Linked DNA regions of Homo sapiens: regions 1 and 3 are each linked to region 2. The links are contacts of gene promoters, found by promoter capture Hi-C in human tissues and cell types (Jung and others, 2019). All regions are on one chromosome and are shown on one strand. The core of a region is centred on a gene start or on the middle of the fragment in contact, and the rest is flanking DNA. Distances in the headings are between cores, read along the strand shown.

What was found. Contacts are between HindIII fragments. The study calls those that stand out against the background at their distance.
Region 1: a contact is called between a fragment that was not itself captured here and the fragment with the promoter of GRIN2B in region 2, in 1 of the 25 tissues and cell types used here (lymphoblastoid cells).
Region 3: a fragment that was not itself captured here is called in contact with the fragment with the promoter of GRIN2B in region 2 in 2 of the 25 tissues and cell types used here (liver and mesenchymal stem cells).

The regions. Positions count from the first base shown.
Region 1 is chr12:14,028,816-14,031,723 of GRCh38, forward strand. No RefSeq gene overlaps it. Among named protein-coding and RNA genes, the nearest start is that of GRIN2B, 49 kb to the left of the region's middle. The HindIII fragment of the contact is 5,625 bases long and covers 1-2,908 here.
Region 2 is chr12:13,979,687-13,982,924 of GRCh38, forward strand. GRIN2B (glutamate ionotropic receptor NMDA type subunit 2B) reads right to left here and starts at 1,916. Exons shown (of 14, transcript NM_000834.5): 1 at 1,656-1,916; 2 at 242-670. The HindIII fragment of the contact is 12,156 bases long and covers 1-3,238 here.
Region 3 is chr12:13,919,633-13,922,516 of GRCh38, forward strand. The region is part of intron 2 of GRIN2B (glutamate ionotropic receptor NMDA type subunit 2B); the gene reads right to left. Among named protein-coding and RNA genes, the nearest start is that of GRIN2B, 61 kb to the right of the region's middle. The HindIII fragment of the contact is 7,271 bases long and covers 1-2,884 here.

The DNA.
Region 1 (2,908 bases), core at 91-2,590, 49 kb after region 2:
ATTGCAAGCACTTACTACCATTTATTTAGTAACTTCTGGGTTTTATAAAAGTTCAATCTTCAAAGCCATAACTCTAAAATAACTAAAACTTAGAAGATTTAAGTTTTAATCTATTTCTGGATCACAGAGCCTATTAAATAAATCTACTAAAAATAGTTAAAAGTACAGCTTTTTTTCATTTTTTTGTACCAAATATCTATTTAGGGTAATTTGTTTATACGATTCTGAAATTTTTATGAAAACTTGCTATGAATATTTAGTAATTGTGTTATTATTTAGAGCTATGAGACTAAAGTCATATGTAGATTTGCTTTGTTTAATTATACCTTTTCTAAATAGAAATAAATTTAGAACTTAATAATGCAACATTAAAATTAGACTTTTTATATACAAAAGACAGGAAATATAAAGAAAATATTTCTTAGGGAAATATGCTTTCTCTTGATCTAATTCAGATCTTGTGCCATTACATTATTTTCTACAAGTCCTGGTCTTACTGAGAATTGTGCCTTGTGGAATTCCCTGTTCAACTTCCTATCCTATGTCAAAAGGGAGGAGGTGATCCTTTTTTCTCTAATTGGATGAGACCTAGAACACAGTTTAGCAAAGCGTTAAACAAAAAGGAATTGTAAGTTTATGCCAGTGTGGACTGGTGAGAAGAATAACTCTTAAATGACGCAGGTAGAGAACAAGTCTGAGATCTTAACTCAAGGGGTGGTAATTAAGAACCATTGGAAGACAGAGGGGGTTTAGAAGGCACATTGCAAGACACAGTACTTTTGGGAGGGAAACTCACTGCTTGAGTAAATAGGGAACTCAAACAAGGAAGTATGGCAAGGATGAAACCTGCAAGGCTATTACAAAGTTTTACTTACCACGTATTTAGTTTGTTTAAATATACTAATCTTAACAAAGTATGGAAGCTTATTATATATTTCTATAATTTTATTTTCTCAAGTCTAAATCATCCTTTATCTTTTCACCTTCTCTATGGCTCTCATATTCCAATACTTGGTTACTCTCATCTGAACTTTCTCTAAGCTTTCTTCCTCTCCTGAGTTGTTAAGGATTTTAGTACAAACCATGATATATATTAGAGTCAGCTGAGTACAATAAGACAAAAATCCAGTGGTTCAGACTTTAACTTGCTCTTATGAAAGATCTTTGTGTTACAGGCTGATTTTTTTCAAACAAAATTGCATGCTGGGCCTGACCTGTTTTTGCCCCTCGTTGACCTTGTATTCTCTCTCAGCTTTGGAAGACCCTTTTATGGATCAGCAGTATGAATGAATACACTTCATAGTAATCACATACAATAGATTGATGCTGTTATGCATCAGTTAGTTGATAGAAAAAAAAGCTGAAGTGATTGCCTAAGGGCAAAGAAATATGGTAATCTTAAAACTTTGTGTTGACATTTAGATGCAAAATCCAGCTATTCAAAGTAGTCTAGGCAATTCCCATGATGTCATGTCACCAGGATGAGTTTTCAGAGTCCAGAACTCATTATTGTTTTCCAGTGGTACATAAAGTTCTGGCTACCCTTCCTTTTGTAGGTATAGGTAAGTAGACAGGCATCTGAAAGTAAATGGAAGGTGGGTGACAAATTGACTCACGCTAAGAGGTACATGAGATGAAAGTAAACATCAAAAGGCTCTTGCATTAATTTACAGTGAGAAATATAACACCACATGTACAAGAAATATCACATTGGCCTGATCAAAACATTTTTTTTTTTACTTGTGGCCCAATCACATAGAAATCAAAAGATGGTTTTGTGAGCACAGACTCAAAAAAACAGGATGTAGATAAATCAAATCTTTAATTCATTGTTTCCCAAAATGCGTTATGTTCTGTGAGATGTTTTAATACATCTTCCAACAACGACAAAAAGTTCACTAATACAATAAATGTGAGAAACACTGGATTAAACTCAGATTTCATAACTGCATTCTTTCCTTTGGACTGCAGATATACATTGTGAATCTCAAAGGGCTCAGACAGACAGCTTTTCTAAAGTGCATTTGACTCCTGTCTATATAGATTACTTATCAATAGCTCACGAAACAATACTATTCTACAGATATAGTTTCAGAATGAATGAATTCTTAGTCTGATGTATAATTCTACCATAAAGATAATCTTGCCAATGGGCCTGGTATATTTGAAATGCAAGGATAAATCTCTGAATTATTCATTCTAGGGACATACTGTCCATGAGATCTAAAATAATCAGTCTCTGTTTTGAGTCTCCCTTTCCATTTTAGAGCTTAGGTGAGCACTACCAATATGAACCTATGTCATTCTCCTTCTGCTTTAATTTGATTTAATTTTACTAGTGATTAAGACACTGAAGAGGTTACAGTATGGGTTTGCTTGCCTACAAATAATATCTTCTTCAGATGATTTTGCATACCTTTATTGTAAATTAGGTGTTGATTTTTAAATGTGACTCTAAATTACTCTATGTTCTTTATTTTCAATGTTAGAGTCCTGCCACACTATAACACCTAGATGCTTATTAAAAGTGTATAACCAGGCTGGGCATGGTGGCTCCTGCCTGTAATCCCAGCATTTTGGGAGGCCAAGGCAGGCAGATCGCCTGAGGTAAGGAGTTTGAGACCAGCCTGGCCAACATGGTGAAGCTCCATCTCTACAAAAATACAAAAAATTAGCCAGGTGTGGTGGGGGGCACCTGTAATCCCAGCTACTCGGGAGGCTGAGGCAGGAGAAACGCTTGAAACTGGGAGGCAGAGATTACAGCGAGCCAAGATCGTATCATTGCACTCCAGCCTGGGCAACAAGAGTGAAACTCTGTCTCAAAATAAATAAATAAATAAATAATAAAAGCACATAACCAGAAAATAATGTAACTGTGGTAGGCAGAATAATGCCCTCCCCCAAAAAA
Region 2 (3,238 bases), core at 666-3,165:
TGCCTGCATACATCCACCCCCACTGCCCCCCAAAAGCCCAAAACCTGTTAGATGAGAGAAGAAAAAGAAAAAACATGGGAGATTTCCTTCTTTGTAATAAGCCTTTTTTCCCAAAACAGCATTATTTTCATATCTTGTGACCTTTTCTTCCAAAAAGATCCACTTGAGGGACTCGAAGAGATAGATAAAATGAGGAATCCCTACCCCAGGTGAGGAAAAAATAAAATAGAATTTGCCCTACCTTGGTTTGTAGAAGCCAAACCTCTAGACGGACAGATTAAGGGAGTGAGCATGTTGGGAATGTCCAGTCCCTTCTTCTCGCTTGCATATCCACATAAGAAAGACGAAGGATAAATGAACGGAAGATAATTTAAAATCCAATTTAGCGTAAATTTTGTTTTAATCTTGTGTCTTGAAGAGATGCAAATTCAAAAAAAAAAAGATTTAATTCAAAGGTAATTCAGGGTATGGAGAGCAGCTCACAATGCAGAATCCAGAGTAATTATTCCGTGTGCATGTGAGGTTAGTGGCTGGAATAGATTTTTAACGCTTCTTCTGGCAATTACGGTTTTTGGTTTTTGGAGCGTTAGTGGAGGAGGCTCTGTGTGGAGAAGCTGGGGGCCGGCTCCGTCCCTCGGTGGAGCATGGTCATTCCCAAAGCGTCCCCTTCCTAAGGGGGAAAAAGAGGCGGTCAGGGCTTGATTCGCGTGTCCCCCGGAGGGTGAGAAAAATGCATTCCGAAAAAGATATCAATTCGTTTTAAGGAAAGGGGGGAGGAAACCCCGCATTTCCCACAGAGTGCACACGAGAGGAATTGAAAACAGCTGGTACCGGTCTATAAATAATTCAGAAAAGGTCTGGCTATACCATTCCTGGGACAGGCACGGATGAGAGGTGGGAAAGCCAACCTGAATGGAAGAGGAGAGAGGGAGGGAGCGAGCGAAGGAGGGAAGTGGGAAGGAAGGAGGAAGGGGGGGAGAAGCGGCACCATACAGCAACACACACTCACACACACGCAGAAACACAATTCCCACTTAACTCGCCAGCGAGTGCGGCCCCCAGCCCCATCTGCATTGCTGCTGACTTGTCTCGCTCGCTCTCCCCATCGCCTCCAGCAGCAGCGCCGCCTCCCACCCCGGGCTTGTGCTGAATGGGTTCTGATTGTGCACGGGGTGCACACTGGGCATTTCTTGGAAGGGGCACACTGACGCGCGCACACACGCCCCCGACGCGCACGCGCCCCGCGCGCACTCACACTCACCCCCGCGCACACTCACCCCCGCGCACACTCACGCTGCCGCCGCGCTGAGGTGCAGCGCACGGGGCTTCACCTGCAACGTGTCGATTGGACGGATGGGCTCGGCGCGTGGGTCCGGCCCGGGGCGCCGCTGCCCTGCCCCTCTGCTAGGTGAAGGGATGAAACCCCCCAAAAGACCAGAGACAGCCCTACCCAGTCACAGCACCCCCTCCCCCACAAAAAAAAAAAACCTTTAAAAAAGCCACGTCCAAATTAGCAAGTGCCGGGTTCTGCTGGATTTCAGAGCTTTACCTCATGCCAGATTCGTTCACGATTTCACGGCTTCGACCCTTTATCTGCCTGACACCCCCAAACCCCTACATTCAAAGGAGAGACTCCAAAGCCCATCTTTACGTACCGGCTCCGAGCGCCTCCGCGGTTGCAGTCTGCGGAGAGGGGTGGCCGGTGGCTGGGAATGGAGGGTTTTCCTTTCCTGCAAAGCAGGATTAATGATCCGTCTCGGGGGTTTTGAAGTTCATGACTCTTCTTTGCAAGGCAAAAGGATATGCATTCGGACGCCAGCACTACTGGATGGTGGTGATCAAGAATCACCCTTGACGAGCACTCTCGATAGAGCGAAGCCCCGAGATTTCCTAGAGGTGAAGAAGCCGGAGGAAGTGGTTTTTGAAAGGGGGTGGGGGGAACCTTCCTTTCTCAAAAAGAGGTGGGGGGTGGAGAGGCAGGAGCCCAGATTCCAGTTGGTGAGGATCGGAGCCGGGGGAAGGGAAGCGGGCGGGGGCAGGCTGTGCAAGTCAACCGCGCGGCAGCCGGAGAGGGAGAGCAGGAGGGGAGGAGGGGAGCGTCAGAAAAATGGGTATTAATCACCGGGGACGGGGGGAGGCGCGGGGAACGCAGGTTGCCTGGTCTGGATTTGGGTCTCACACTCAAAAACGTGCCGCGCACACACACACAGACACACACACACCCCCTACCTCGCACACCCTGACTCCGGGGGGAGGAGAAACCCACGAAGCTGGGGAAGATACTGCTTCTGCTCCCAGGGGCGGGTGTGAGCGCGCGTGTCCTCTTTCTCCACACCCCCCACCCCACCCCACCCCCAAGCCCCTGCACCCCCTCACTCCTCTTGCTAAGACTCTGGCGGAGGCAGCTTCCCACGTCATGTGCTGGGGAAGTGGGGTGGTAAGGTGGATGGAAGGGGGACGGAAGGGGGAAGAAGCTTAGCCCGAGTCCGTGGCGCCTCCTCCCGGCCGCAGCGGGGAACAGCACCGACGGAGAGCGGCTGAGGGGCGAGGGGAGCTAGACAGTGCCCCCCGTGGGCGGCCCGCGGGCTGCGGAAAGCATCTCCAAGGCGGAGCTGTAGTTCGAAATTGAAGACCCTTGCTGTATTTTCCATAAATCAGCCTGTGCTTCCTACGAGCATTCTGTGTGTCGGACGCAGTCTGGGACCGGGTTCTTTCTTGCCTTCAAGGAGCTTAAGATCTATCTGAGCACACGAGGCTGACGCCTAACACAATAGAAAACAAAGCAAAGCAGGTGTCATTCGTGGCTAAATTGTATAGTATGGACCATACGCGTGCTTTTCTGGCTGCTAGTGAAGGCGGGAGGAGTTTGACATTTTTTATTAAAGTGGATCCTGTTATTTAAATGCCTTGAGAAGAGAAGATGGTGAGGCCCGTGAATAATCCCTAAAGGAAACTGGATTTCCTGGCATTTACAAACCCACCCTCTTTGAAAAGGCAAACATCCATTCATTTCTCTTCCTATTGAACTCTTTTATATTTTAATAGCCCTTATCACCACCTGTAGTATTGTTTACTTTTAACATTAATATTATTGTATATGCATCATTTTCATTCTCATCCATTGTCTTTTCAAATATCTAGAATACTACAGTGGTGGAACATTTTCATATTGGTTATATCATGGGCTTCTCACCAGCATTCCTGAGAAGCGGCCATACAAACGCACAGGAGAGAAGGC
Region 3 (2,884 bases), core at 178-2,677, 61 kb before region 2:
GTCTTTGGGTTTACTAGTGGAAAATGACAGTATCCATTTATAAGAAGGTAGGGAAGCATCCAAATGAACCCTATAAAGCTGTTGGCCAAGATCTTGCTTGAAAATTGGAAGCTGATGCGGGGATCGTCTCCCTGGAAAGGGTCCATGGCCCTCCATTCTGAACACTGATGGGAATGTGGGAGCTCAGGAACTCAAAAAAAAAGCAGACATTCTTGGGGTCATATCAGAATCACCTTGAAAATGAGAGCAACAACGATGCAGATGAACTGGCTGGAGCATTTGACGCCCTTTACCACAGGAGGAAGATCACATTCCTGCAGAGGAATACACCACAAAGCCTTGCCATCAATTCAGATTTTCTCCCTTCTGTCTTCCCTAAAGAGCTTATCTCTGAAGAGGCCTAGGGTGGTAAAAAGCCCTCAGAGGAATTCAGTCACAATCCTGGGACTAAGAGCCCGCCTCCTCACTGAAAAAAAGGAATTAGAGCTGGGTGTGGTGGCTTACACCTGTAATCCCAACTACTCAGGAGGCTGAGGCAGGAGGATCGCTTGAGCCCAGGAGTTTGAGGCCAGCCTGGGTAACATAGCAAGACCCTATCTCAAGAAAAAAAAAAAAAAACGGGGATTGGGAGAACTAGGAGGGTGGAGAGTAGGAGGTGAAGTGAAAAAATGAGAGTCAACAGAATTAAATTTCCCCAACTCACTTACGCTTCTCACAGAAGCATCATTCATTGGTACTTTAACTTCTCAAGGAAAAAATTCAAAGGAATAGAATGGAAGTAGGGAAAAGATGGGATAAGACTGCTTTATCCTAGGCAAAAACATCATTTTGTAACTGTGCAGGATATTGTTTGTTGATCCTTAGCACCATTCTCACATCTCTAAGCTCTCTTTTGCATTCCAGGTTTATGAAGCCTAGAAACTTCCTTCCTTTCCTGGATGTTTTTGCTAACAAGTTCCTGGTTAGATCCCAGCAGTGAGAGGCTCCAGACTGAGGTGGGGAAGGTGGAAGAGAAAAAGAAGCTGCTATGCTCCAGGTGCACCTGGAAGACGTCACTTTGATGTTGGCCTGTGGCAAAGGTACAGTTTTGCCGGTGACATCAGGCATCTCCTGAGAATCACCCACTTGCCTCACTGTAGCCCTTCGCTTACATTTTTCCCAAATGAAGCTTTCCTGTTCTTCACTCCTCCAGCCTTCTAAAGATTGTGTAAACCTTGAATTCCCTGTATTAAATTTCCTCTTCAAAATACCCAAGGTGGCTTCTGTGAATCCTGACTAATACATTAGTCTGCCCCATGGTTCTCAAGTTGCAGGATTTGTACCAATCCTAACGGCACCAAGGATATGTAAAACCCTAACAAAGCACAGTACGTATTCTTGAGCCATTTTACTCAATAGTAGGTAATTTTGGAAATTTATTTTTATATTGAAATAATCACTGAAACATCATAGGGAAAGGGCATATTAAAATAAAGTTTTAGGAACCAGGCATGGTAGCTCACACCTGTAATCCCAGCACTTTGGGAGGCCAAGGCAGGCAGATAATTTGAGGCCAGGAGTTCAAGATCAGCCTGGCCAATATGGTGAAACCCCATCTCTACTAAAAATACAACACATTAGCCAGCTGTGGTGGTGCAGACCTGTAGTCCCAGCTGCTTGGGAGGCTGAGGCATGAGAATCGCTTGAACCCGGGAGGCAGAAGTTGCAATGAACCTAGATTGTGCCACTGCCACTATACTCCAGCCTGGGTGACAGGAGCAAGACTATATCTCAAAAGTAAAATCAAATAAAAAAGTTTCAGGACAAAATATAAAAGCTAAGAGAAAATAACTCTTGCAGAAGGCTACTTTACCTTGCAGTCTCAACCTGAAGGATGAGCTTCCACCCTCCTCTGTAATTTCGAGTATCTTGATGGAAGAGTTTGCAACACACTGCACATCTTTCTCTCTATATGTCTATCTAAGTTTCTCTTGTGTTCCCTAAGAAGGGATTTCAGATGGTACAGCAGTATTGGGGAGGTTGAAAGTCTGTACATTCTCTGTGAACAGCAAGTCAGGTTCAATGAAGTCAGAGTTTCCATATAAATCTTTTCTTAGCCTACTGGGATGCCAGATCCTTGGTGGCAGGGAAGACACCATGTCTAATGAGCTTTGTGCCCAGCACTGTGCATCTCCAACAGTCCCTGGCCCACAGTAGGCATGCGATAGATATATTATTCCCTGAATTGAAGAATCAGTGGATAGATGGATAGGCAGATAAGTATGTACCAAGCACAAGTGGCAACAGAGGTTAAATGATAAGAAATATATATTGTTAAATATGCAACCTTGACCAAGTTATTTTGCCTCTAAGCCTTAGGTTCTGTATCAGGAAAATGAGTGTTATTATACCTATTTCTCAGGATTGTTAGGGTTGGAACGAAGGTTTGAGAGGTGGCACAAGCAAAGTACCTAGTAAGGTGTCTAGCACACAGTAAGCTCTCCTATATAATATTTATCATTATCAATTTTTACTGGATTTGAGTAGTGTAAAATATGCTTAGGTTAAACAAGTAGACTGAATCTAATTCAATCTTTCCTCAATGGTTCAGAGAGCACTAAAGTGCTTCAGCAGATCATTTGAGACATGGTGTCTCCAGTTCATTAGCCAGAGTGGCAGATAGCAGGGTGCCCTGGGTGTCTGAGCTCAAACCCCCGCTTCCACAATGGAAGGTGGAGAGAAAAAAACTAGCTCATGTTTTGGCCACATGGCAGTCTTCCAAACTGAATTGTTATTTGGGTTAGGATTACAAGATTAGTAGAGAGGAGCACACAGTCAATGAAATAATACATTTTGACTCCAGAAAAGAGACTGATACAGCAGCGCATGAAATTTCAAATGGGCA